2 separate regions of the Homo sapiens genome follow, and region 2 is linked to region 1. Evidence: promoter capture Hi-C in 16 types of primary human blood cells and fetal thymus (Javierre and others, 2016). All regions are on one chromosome and are shown on one strand. The core of a region is centred on a gene start or on the middle of the fragment in contact, and the rest is flanking DNA. Distances in the headings are between cores, read along the strand shown.

Region 1 (5,719 bases), core at 1,791-4,290:
TGCCTTGGCTAACTCAGGGTTTAGGTTTAAAGCCAGATGGACTGGTCTTCAAAGCCCGGCTGCCCTGCCCCTGCCAGTCCTTCCTGGGCCACACAGCACTGGCTTCATCTCTGCTTCCTGGAATTGGAGAGGCTTGGCTGGTCCTTCCGTCCTCACTCGCTCCCTGAGCTGTGTGGGCTCCCCGGGCCTCAGCAGCCGGTGCCAACTCAGCTCTCACTGTCACCTGGTGTCATGCGCTGTCTGGCCGGGTCCCAGCAAATGCCCAGGAGGACTCTCAGCTGTCCTTGGGTGGGTACAGCCGCACGGCCACCACCGGCCCAGCACTCCCTGCCCCTGGTAGCTGAGGGCATCTCAAGGGTCAGACAGGGCGCTGGCCATCCCTACACAACAGAACCAGGCTCCCAGTCCCTCACCACACTCTTGGGATAAACCCAGCAGAGCCCATGCCAGCCCTCCCTGGGTGAGAAGCACTCATTTTAGAGAAAATCTCTTTTCTAGGCTGGGCGCGGTGGCTCACATCTGTAATCCCAGCACTTCGGGAGGCCGAAGCGGGCAGATCACTTGAGGTCAAGAGTTTGAGACCAGCCTGGCCAACATGACAAAACCCTGTCTCTATTAAAAATACAAAAATTAGCCGGGTGTGGTGTCGGGCGCCTGTAATCCCAGCTACTCAAGAGGTTGAGGTAGGAGAATCTCTTGAACCCAGGGGGCAGAGCTTGCAGTGAGCCGAGATCACGCCACTGCACTCCAGCCTGGGTGACAGAGCGAGACTCCGTCTCAAAAAAAAAAAAAGAAGAAGAAAATCTCTTTTCTTGGCATCTCTGCCAGCCCATAAGATTCTCTGGAGCTTTACTTCTAGAAACAAATAATGTGTTAGCTTCCCAAATGTGGCATTATATTAAAATACACAGTACTTCCTCATCACTCCCCAAGTCCCTGGCCCGCCTCCTCTTGGATCTTGTCGGAGGAAAAGTGGACGTTTCTCTCAACACTTCTGCAAGGTGCAGAGAAGAGGGAGGAGGTGAAATTAGGTCTCACCCTCTTCAGGAGAGCAGTGGGCAAAACCCCACCTTGTCTGGGGAGGCAACAGGGTCACCGTGTGCTGCCCTGGCACTGTTCCTGCCAGCCCTGGCAGGAGTCTTCCGGCTCAGAGTCAGCCTCTTTTCCTCTGTCACGTCCCGGCTGTCTGGTGTTCACCCTTGAGAGCCTCAGTTTTCCCTCTGTAAAATGGGGATGCCTTTGCTACTATGGAAAGTGTGTGCTGAGCACCTGCTATGTGCCAGACATTGGCCTGAGTGCTGGTCGCACATGGTGCACAAAACAGATGAGGCCCCACGGGCTCCATTCCGGGGGGAGGAGAGGAGGGAGAGGTGTCCAACACACACACAGTCACCTAGGGGTGCAGGAAGATGGTGGCCACCCTGGAAAGGTCGGTGGGCTGGGAGGTAAAGGACAAGAAGGGGGCTGGCATGTAAAGCCCCTGGACAGGCCTGATGGTTGTGAGGACTGGATTCCACAGCCAGGGTACAACCTGCTCGGGACCTGGGTGCACAGAGCCTCCAGCTGAAGGTGCTGTGAAGCCCCACTCCTCCAGGAAGTCCACCTGGGACCCCAGCCCACACCCCCGCATCCCCCAGCTCCCGGCAGCGGCACTCCTGTCTGCAGGGTGCACCCACCTCATCTGCCCTGGAAGATGAAAACCCCGCAGCCGTCAGCAGCCACCTCTCAGCCTCTCAGAGGCACAGCAGTGCAGCTCTCAGACCTCCCGGCTGCGGGGTGTGCAGTTCCGGCTCCAAGCGTGGAAAGAGGTCAAGCCAGGCCCTCCAAGCTGATTCCAGATGAAGCCCATATGGATCTGGAAGGAGACTGGGCTGGAAAATGCTCTCCTGGGTTTCGCTGTAAGATGCCTACAGGCCTAAGGCAAAAGGATGTGTCTCCACTTTCAAGAAAAGCTGGGACCGCCTGGGCAGGGGCTGCTGAGCCCAGGCAGCGAGACCCCACGTCCTTCAGGACCGCAGTTCCCCATTCATTTGAAGAGCAGTTTCTGTATTTGTCATTCTCTCAGTACAGTTTGGGGGGTGGTTACAATGTTCAGGGAAATGTTTTAACAGCTCAACTCTGCATCTGAAAAAAGAGGGGCCGTGCTCCCCTGCTGACCCGTTAGAGCGCAGGGCGGCCAGCACTCCCGCAACTGCAGCAAACCCAAGAGTCCCTATGAGGAGGGACCCCAGGAAACTGCTTTTCAATCTCCATCTGCTCCCTGAGGTGGGACGCCGGGTGGGGGCCGGGCCAGGTGACTGCTGCCCTTGTCCCAGCTGCACCTTGCCCTGCCACGCTGGCCGTGCTGCCAAGCGGATGTGAACGCCGCCACCTGACACCCACCTCGCCTGCCCCCGGAGCGTCCCTGGTGACAAGGCTACTTCTGGCACCCAGGGTGGGGCAACCCAGCCCCGCCCAGACACACGCCCCAGTTGGCCTGCGCGCCCCCACGAGTCTCCCCGCAGGGGACCGAGAACACCCTAAGAGCCAGGCTTTCTGCCAGGTGGCCACTGGTCACTCGGGGGCGGTTCCGGCGGCCCTTTGCGTGGCCACCGGCCTGGCACGGGCGCATCCCCGCTGGTTTTACGCCCTTGGGGAGCTGTGGTTCTGCGCGCGGGAGCCTGTGGCTGCCCCGGCAGCGGGGGGAGGGGGCACCGGGCGGGGCAGGAGGCCCAGACCATGGGGGGCAGCGCCAGAGCCCGAGCCACCGGCAAGCCATGATGGGGGGGTCCCCTGGGACCGGGAGGGTGGGAGCAGAGCGCCAGAGCCTCGGTAACCTGGCAGAAGGCTGTGGGGAGGGAGCGTGGAGGGGAGGTCCGGGCCGGGTGACCCAGGGCGGGAAGGGGGGGCCGTGTCGGGGCGGGGTTGGGGACAGTGGCGGGGCGGGGCCTGGTGAGGGGACCGTGTCGGGGCGTTGTTGGGGACAGTGTCGGGGCGGGGCGCCGCACCTAGCCCTTCCCTGCCGCGCGCTCCTCCCCCACGCCGCGCCCCGCCCCGCCCAGCCCCGCCGCCCTCGCAATAAGGGGCCTGAGCGCGCGGGGGAGAAGCGGGAGCGGGAGCGGGAGCGAGCTGGCGGCGCCGTCGGGCGCCGGGCCGGGCCATGGAGCTGTGGCCGTGTCTGGCCGCGGCGCTGCTGTTGCTGCTGCTGCTGGTGCAGCTGAGCCGCGCGGCCGAGTTCTACGCCAAGGTCGCCCTGTACTGCGCGCTGTGCTTCACGGTGTCCGCCGTGGCCTCGCTCGTCTGCCTGCTGCGCCACGGCGGCCGGACGGTGGAGAACATGAGGCAAGGCCGGGGGCCGCCGGGAGGGGCCGGGGAACCGCCGCGCCGCTTCCGCTTCCCTAACTTTCTTCTGGGCTTCCCTCCTTCCTGCCCCGCCCGTCCCGCCCCGCTCCGGGGCTCCGGGGAGAGCGCGCCTGGGCCGGCGGCAGGCACAGGAGGGGGTCCCGGAGTCAGGGGGTCCCGGAGTCACGGGGTCAAGGAGCCGGCGTCACAGTGCCCAGCACCCCACCCCCCGCCCTGGCCCCGGGCGTCTACACCGGTTTCGGCCTCCGCCGCGTCCCTGCAGCCCGGCGTGGGGTTCCGGGGGTGGAGCAGCTTTCGGAGAGAAAGGGGGCCGGTCCGCGCTGGGAGAGGCTCAGCCCTGCTTCCTGAGCGGGGAAACCGAGGCCGGGGCGGCGGGGACTTGCCCCAGGGCTATTGATCAGGGCGCACGACGGCGTGGGGGCACCCCTCGGCCTCCCTCCGACCCCCTCCTGACTGTCCGCCCGGTGATGGGCGCACCTGTGGGGCGGGTTCCCCTTTCTCTCCCTTTCCTCTTCGCAGGGAGGTGGGGGACCCGGAGGGGACCTGCTTCCGTGCTGGGGAGCGCGCCCCTGGCCTACAGCTCCGGGGGCCCAGCTTCCAAGCGAAGGGAAGGAAGAGTTAGGACTAGGGTTCGGCGGGGCTGAAATTTTCCCCTGGACGCCTTCCAGAAGGTGGGAGCTTGGTTTTGCCAGGCTGGGGTTGGGGGCCAGAGGTCAGACTGGGCTGCCAAAGACGGCGGGGGCTGCCTGCTCCTGGGCGGGGTGGCTGCTGGAGAAGGCTCTTGCCTGCCCCCTCTCCCTGTTAGCCGTCCCCAGGCTGTTGCTACATTTCTCCCTGCCCTGTTTGGACTGCCCAGCCAGTGGCTTTTGCAATGGCCTGGGGTGGGGGCATTGTGGCCCCAGAGGCCCCCTTCCCCGTGGTTCCAGGGGCAGTGGGTGAGGGTTTGCTAGCTCCCTGCACTCGCTGTCCTTGCCAGCCCTGGGAGGGCACTGAGGCTGCTGGAACGGGCCTACAGTCATGGCTTCCAACGGAGCCCCAGAAGCTCCAGGAATATGAAGGAGGACCCTGGGCCTGATGGTGAGCATGGAGAGTCCGAGAAGGGCCTGCTGGCTGCTCAGCCAGACGTGTGTGACCAGTGGTGATGTGGGCCAGGTGGCCCAGGCCGGGGTCCCGGGGAGCGCACACTCCAGGGCTGGCCCAGGTGGTGACTGGCGCTGACGTCCCCAGTGGAGCACCCTTCAGCGAGGAAGGCAGTTTGCAGAAACAGGGAGTTCCTGGGGGCTGGGCTCTGGGCACCTGTGCTGGAATCTGTGAAGGCCTCACCTGTGGTTCTGGCCCTGGGATCCCCTGTAGGCAGGGGTCTCTGTGAGGGGCCCCCCTCAGCCCCTGGGGTGCTTCAGAGTAGGGGCGAGGGTGCGGCTTTCCCAGCTGAGGAGGGGCCAGTCTGTGGGTTCCTTGGGGTGCCCCCCACCCCGAGGAAATGGCTTGTGTGGTTCTGATGCCTGCAGGGCATCCTGTGCTGGGCGTGTCCTGGGGTGTGGACAGGGGACGGGGTCCTGTTCTTTTGGCAGAAATGATGGGGCACCTGACTTAGGAGACCCTGGAGCAGACCCCACTACTGAGCCAGGCCACAGGCCACGGGCCTCTTCATCGGCGGCCTCCTCGTGTGAGAAAGCCTGGCTTGTTCTGCAGGGGCCTCTGCCTGGACTTCCTAGCTGTTTTCCAGGGACCAAATCACAGTTCACCTGCTGCCCTTTCTATGGACCTGGCAGGCTGGGTTGGCTGGCACTGGCCCTGCTGCCCCACTGGGCCCTGTCCCCATCTCAGCTTGGAGATTCTGGCTAACCTGGGTGTCCTCGGGACCTGGGGCCTCTGATGGTGCTTGGATGGGACCCTCCTGCCGCCCTCACCTCTCCAGGGCAGCACCCAGGCTCAGGCCTGTGGAGTAGTGGCTTCCGGGACACTGGCTACTAACAGCAGGTGCTTTGTTCCTGCTTTGGTCCCTGAAGAGAAGGGAGGGCCAGAGGGCAGGGCAGTCTGGAGGAGAGGCCTGGGGCTCCATGGCTACCTTCCCCCACACCTCTGCACGTGCTCCCCAGGCCCCAGGGTCCCTGATGACTTCCAAGACTCCCAGCAATGGCTAAGAGTGGGGCTGTTGCGAACGTGCGTTCCCTCCGTGGGGGCCGTCGGGAGGGGTGAGAAAGGCAGATGAAGAGCAGGCGCTTTGTCACTCCAGGGAAGGGACCCGGGGGGCTGGAAGGGAAGGAGGGGATACTCGGCCTCTGTTCCTGCTGTACGCCACGGGTGCCTCCAGCCTCAGGAACAGGGATTCGCGTGTGCTCTGTGTTACAAATAAGGACACTGAGGCTGAGATAAG
Region 2 (5,719 bases), core at 1,042-3,541, 230 kb after region 1:
TTGCATCAGGATCTTCACCTCTTGTCAGTAGTTCCATTTGTGAGAACGTGCTCATGGGATACCCAAAAACTGTATTAGGGACATTTTTAGACCCATTTCAAAGTTCAGAGAGTCATTCATGCATGCGTCCTTAGGTGCTCATCCCCCACCTTAGTGGTTACGAACACAGGGCCAAACTTGTGTTCTGCCCCCTCTGTCCCGCTCTGCATCCCCCAAATTCCCGATGAAAGCATGCAGACATTCCTGGGGGAGTCCAGCTTTTGCTGAGTCAGGTCCACGTGGTCAGGTGGTAGTCTCGGGCCAGGCCTGTTCCAGGGGGGTGCCTAGCACTGCCAACCCAGTGCCCGTGGGCCAAGAGGTCGTCTACAGCAACTTCCCAGTCACCCAGCGTCCCATGTGCTGTGTATGTCACCTAAGCACATACTAGAAACATATAGGCAGCTAATTAAACTTTATTGCCAGTGAACACTGAAGCTGCATTGCCCGGCATTTTGAAGACGGCTCACTTGCCATCACCCGGTGGTGACAGGGGCCTTTGATTTTTGCCCGTGTCTAGATGGCTTCCCAGTTACGACTCTTCGATCCCCAGCTGAAAGAGAAGCCAGAAGAGGAGTCCTTGGCCGCACCCACGTGGCTGGTTCACCTGCAGCAGGTGGAGCGGCAGATTAAGGTACAGCCTTGGCTTGGGGTGGCACAGAGGCGTCTGGCAAGGTGGCTTCTGTCCCTGTCATTTCCACACTGAAAGTATGTATCTGTAAAGACAGTGTAACTGCAAACGTGTGCCTATGAGAATTCCCTAATTCCCCAGAAAGGGCTTTGAGTGCCTCCTGTCCTGAAGTAGGGACACAGCAAGCGCGGTGGTGGCAGGCGGGCAGCGCTGCAGAGCGGCCACAGGCGGCTTCCACAGGGCAGGTCTTGTTCTCCCTCAGGAGGGGGCTGGAGTATGGCATCAGGATGGAGCCCTCCCGCAGCAGTGTCCTGGCACTCCGAGTTCCGAGATGGAGCAGTTGGACAGGCCAGGACTCAGTCAGCCAGGAGCCCTGGGGATCGCCAACCCTCTGCTGGCGGTGCCTGCACCGAGCCCTGAGCACTCGAGCCCGAGCGTGCGGCTGCTGCCCTCAGGTGAGCCCAGGTGCGCGGCTGCTGCCCTCAGACAAGCCCCTGCTTCCTGTGGGCTGAGCCATGGCCTGCACCCTTGCCTCCTGGAGAACTGCTTTCAGATGTGGACTGTTGGAGGCAGTGTCTCACACCACCTCGGTGGTTGTGGGGCTCCTCGGTCTCCTCCCTCTTCCCTTCATGCTTCCTCCCCTGAGGAGCCCATGGAGGGGAGGCTCATGGCTTTCCATGTCCATAAATATCCATGTGCTGGCGACACTGCCCTGAGCGCCCGCTGCCTGCTCAGCCTCCCTGCTTGTTTCTCCGGGAGCCTCAGCCGCACCGTGTCTGGGCGGCGCCCTCGGCTGTGCCCCTCTGTAACCTGCTTCTCCCAGTCGGCCCCGTCGGTGGAAGGGCCAGCCCAGAGCTCCAGGGAGTCAAGTCCAGATGCCCCCTCCTCTCTCGCGCTTCTCGGCTTCCTTCGTCAGTGAACCTCACCAGCGCGGCCTGCACGCAGGTCCGCATGCCTGGATGAGCACGGGCTCCTTCCTGCTCGCCTCCTGCTTCTTCCCCAGACCCTCCAGACTCTCCATCTCACCTGAGGACAAGCCAGGGTCCTCACGGTGGCCACAGGCCCTCCAAGCTTGGCCCTGAGCCCTCCTGCCCTCGTGCCATGTCCACTCCCACGCTGTGGACCAGCCACACTCCTGATTTGGGCCCACTGCCCACCCTCCCTGCCTGATGTCCAGTCTGCTTCGTCCTCAGACACCGTTACCACTTCCTGGTTGATTGCTGTCCTTAGCGCTTTCTCTTACTCAGTTCATCTGTCCCGACCCCCATGAGGACCCAGCATTTCTTTTGTTGTTGAAGCATCCAGGGCCCAGCATGGTGCTGGTAGGCAGCAGCCCTCTCAGGTTTTATGTTGAGTCGGAAGAATGAAGGAATGAACGAGTGGCCTGTGTGACCCCTGGCCGTGGAGGAGGGGACTCGGGCCTAGCAGAGCTCTGTGCCAGGCGGCCGCCATGGGCTTGCGTGTGGGCCGGGCCCTGGAGCCCGCGTGCCGCTGTGACTGCTCAAGTGCCCCTCCCCTAGAAAAGGAAGCGGATACTCTGCTTTTCTGCAAACCACGGATGGTGCGGTGGGGTGGTGGCTTCAGGCTTTCTGCTCTGTTGGACCTCCCTTATAAAAGAAATGGGGCTGTACAAAATAACTTGTCATAAACACGTCGAGTGTCAGCTCCTTCCAGTAACTCAAGCTACCCTCAGTAACCCCAGACCTCTTCTCCACCGTTCCCATGCAGCTCCGCAGACGCTCCCTGACGGCCCATTGGCCAGTCCTGCCAGAGTGCCGATGTTCCCAGTGCCACTGCCCCCGGGGCCCCTGGAGCCGGGTCCTGGCTGTGTGACCCCAGGGCCTGCACTTGGCTTCCTGGAGCCCTCCGGGCCTGGCCTCCCACCTGGTGTGCCACCTCTGCAGGAAAGGAGACACTTGCTCCAGGAAGCCAGGAGCCCAGACCCAGGTGGGGCTGCAGAGATGCTGTCTCGAGAGCAGAAGCAGCATGGGGTGTGGTGTTTGTGGGGATTGGTGGAAGAGATTGAAGTTATTTGAGCTTGAAACAACTTACATTACTTGTCTTAACGTAGACCAGAAATTCTGGAAGTTACAGACTGGATGGGTTCAGAGTCTCACTACAACAGCAGTGTTAATGCCAGTTCCTTTTGTAACTTGGCTTTTTGTTGTGAAGCTTAAATGGCCATTTGGGGCAGGGCATGGTGGCCATGGGTCTCCTGGGGTCTGTCTTTAGACGGCCCTGCTGGACGCCTGGTGAGATGCACAGGGGCAGGTCATGAACTGTCTGGAACTCGATTTGGTGGATCTTGTCCCTGGTCTGTGCCTATGTCTACATGTGTGTATATGGACAAAGCAAAACATAGGCCTAGTTTTAAAAATGAAAGAGTGTGCACACATGTGGGAAGATGTTCAGCCTTGGTTTCTGCAGATCATGCTGGTGTGGCGGTAGCTGGGTGGGAAGGTGGTGTGCCTGTTGATCTGTGCGCCACACACACGTCCCGCCTTCTCGTGACTGAGATCATAGTTGCTCTCTTTCCCGTTGACAGGGATAGTGCCGCAGGAGGCGCCTGTTGGAAACTCACTTTCCGAGCTAAGCGAAGAAAATTTTGATGGAAAATTTGCTAATCTGGTACTTTGTCACATTTTCTTAAACTGTTTGTTTTCCATAAAGTTCATCGAGTGGGCACCCAGACTCCTTGTTGAGTTGTAAGATGATGGTAGTGAGGACTATGAAATTGTTTCTAAAATTGTTTCTTAAAGTGAAAGTGCTTCTAAATAGCTTTCATCCTTAAAATATGAAGAGTTGGTGAAAACACTGGCAGGGAAAGATGGGGAAGAGAGAATTCAGTAGTGTAAAAACAGTTACTTTAAGTAGAAGAAATACCCAAATATCATGAAATCCCCTTATTAATTTTAATTCTTCCAAAATGGGTACCTTCTCTGATTTCTACATCTCTTTTTCTTTTTTTTTTCTTTTTTTTTTTTTTGAGACAGATTCTTGCTCTGTCGCCCAGGCTTGAGTGCAGTGGTGCGATCTCGGCTCACTGCAACCTCCACCTCCTGGGTTCAAGCAGTTCTGTGCCTCAGCCTCACAAGTAGCTGGGACTACAGGTGTGTGCCACCATGCCCGGCTAGTTTTTGTATTTTTAGTAGAGATGGGGTTTCACCATGTTGGCCAGGCTGGTCTTAAACTCCTGACCTCATGATCTACCCGCCTCAGCCTCCCAAAGTGCTGGGATTACAGGTGTGATCCACCAAGCCTGGCCTTTTTTTTTTTTTTTTTTTTTCCCTAAGACATAGTTTCGCTCTGTCGCCTAGGCTGGAATGCAGTGGCGCCATCTTGGCCACTGCAACCTCCGCCTCCCAGGTTCAAGTGATTCTCCAGCCTCAGCCTCCCAAGTAGCTGGGACTACAGGCATGTGCCACCATGCCTGGCTAATTTTTTGTATTTTTTGGTAGAGACAGGGTTTCGCCATGTTGGCCAGGCTAGTCTCGAACTCCTGACCTCAAGTGATCTGCCTGCCTCAGCCTCCCAAAGTGCTGGGATTAAGGTGTGAACCACTGCACCTGGCCATCTCTTTTTTTTTTTTTTTTTTTTTTTTTTTTTGAGATGGAGTTTCTCTCTGTCGCCCAGCCTGGAGTGCAGTGGTGCGATCTTGGCTCACTGCATCCTCTGCCTCCCAGGTTTAAGCAATTCTCTGCCTCAGCCTCCTGAGTAGCTGGGACTACAGGCGCCCACCACCACACCCAGCTCATTTTTTTTTGTATTTTTAGTAGAGATGGGGTTTCACCATCTTGGCCAGGCTGATCTTGAACTCCTGACCTCATGATCCACCTGCCTCAGCCTCCCAAAGTGCTGGGATTACAGGCATGAGCCACCCCGCCCAGCCCGGCCGTCTCTTTTTCTACAGTAGAATTTCTTTTCTAATTTTTTGATCTCACAAGAGGATGTCCTGGAATTCAGTAGAATTTCTAACATTGTCACTGGTTTTCCTGAAAGTGAGATTTATCTCATTAGACATGTTTGGTATAAATACCTCCTCTGTTTGCTCTACTCCTAACCAGGAGGGATGGTTGCTTTTATACAGACCGCATTCTGGAACCTTCTTTACAGATACCCAGCCCTTCACGGGCATCCCATCAGTAGGCGATTGCTATAGTTTGAACTTGCATTAGGTGTTTTACCCTTTAAAATACTGTGTCCCTGGAAAAGTAAAAATGAGGGTTGAGCTATTAAAAATTGGGACTTGACCCAGGAATAAATATTTTTAAAAATCATTGTATCTTTGAGAACACCCATCGCCCCCCTCTGGCCAGTCTTCCCTCAGTGCATGCTCACACTCCGTTTCTTCCAGCCCGGAATCTCCATCGAACGCCCTCATTTGCATTCTGAGTGCTGAGTGCTCCCAGACGGAGCTGCTTATTAAGTGCGGCTGGCTCTTCTCTAGTCAGGCCAGGTAGAGGCTCTGGGAGGCCCAGTCAGGGGGCTGCTCTCCCCAGCCCCCTTCCTGCCTCCCTCTGGTCACCAGAGTCATCCGGCCTCTCAGTGATGTATTTAGGAAACACGCCTGGGGAATTGCATCCCCCTCTCTCTTTCGGTTCCTGTGAGGAGCCCCAGGAGAGCCTGTTCTGCATTTCCTTGCGACAGACCCCCTCGAGGACGGTGCCAGACTCGGAGGCCCCCCCAGGGTGGGATCGTGCCGACTCGGGTCCCACGCAGCCACCTCTGTCTCTCTCACCCGCTCCCGAAACAAAGAGACCCGGACAGGCAGCCAAGAAAGAAACGAAGGAACCTAAGAAGGTAGTACAGCCTGCCCACGGTGCGCCTGGCGGCCGGGAGGGTTTGGGCAGGAGGCACGCTTCCCAGAGCGCCATCCTCTTAATTCACCACACATGCAAATAGCCTCCTGATACAAACAGCCGAGTGTCTACAGTGCACACGGCATGATGGGTGTCTGTGTATTTGTGCCTTCAGATAATAGGATAATAGCCCACCCAGGTCAGCATGGGGACACAGCCCGGCCCCCAGAGGTCGCCTCTGGCCACTACCTGT

Evidence for each region. The method cuts DNA at HindIII sites, captures the fragments that hold promoters and counts their contacts. A CHiCAGO score of 5 or more calls a contact.
Region 2: a contact is called between a fragment that was not itself captured here and the fragment with the promoter of AGPAT2 in region 1, in 1 of 17 cell types (endothelial precursors). The highest score is 7.0, in endothelial precursors.

The regions. Positions count from the first base shown.
Region 1 is chr9:136,684,778-136,690,496 of GRCh38, reverse strand. AGPAT2 (1-acylglycerol-3-phosphate O-acyltransferase 2) reads left to right here and starts at 3,040. Exons shown (of 6, transcript NM_006412.4): 1 at 3,040-3,321. The coding sequence starts at 3,140. RefSeq lists silencers at 2,314-2,393, 2,864-3,063, 3,284-3,853 and an enhancer at 3,574-4,435. The HindIII fragment of the contact is 21,227 bases long and covers 1-5,719 here.
Region 2 is chr9:136,451,004-136,456,722 of GRCh38, reverse strand. It overlaps SEC16A (SEC16 homolog A, endoplasmic reticulum export factor), which reads left to right. Exons shown (of 32, transcript NM_014866.2): 19 at 557-670; 20 at 930-1,122; 21 at 2,396-2,614; 22 at 3,213-3,295; 23 at 5,315-5,467. Among named protein-coding and RNA genes, the nearest start is that of INPP5E, 14 kb to the right of the region's middle. The HindIII fragment of the contact is 1,101 bases long and covers 1,741-2,841 here.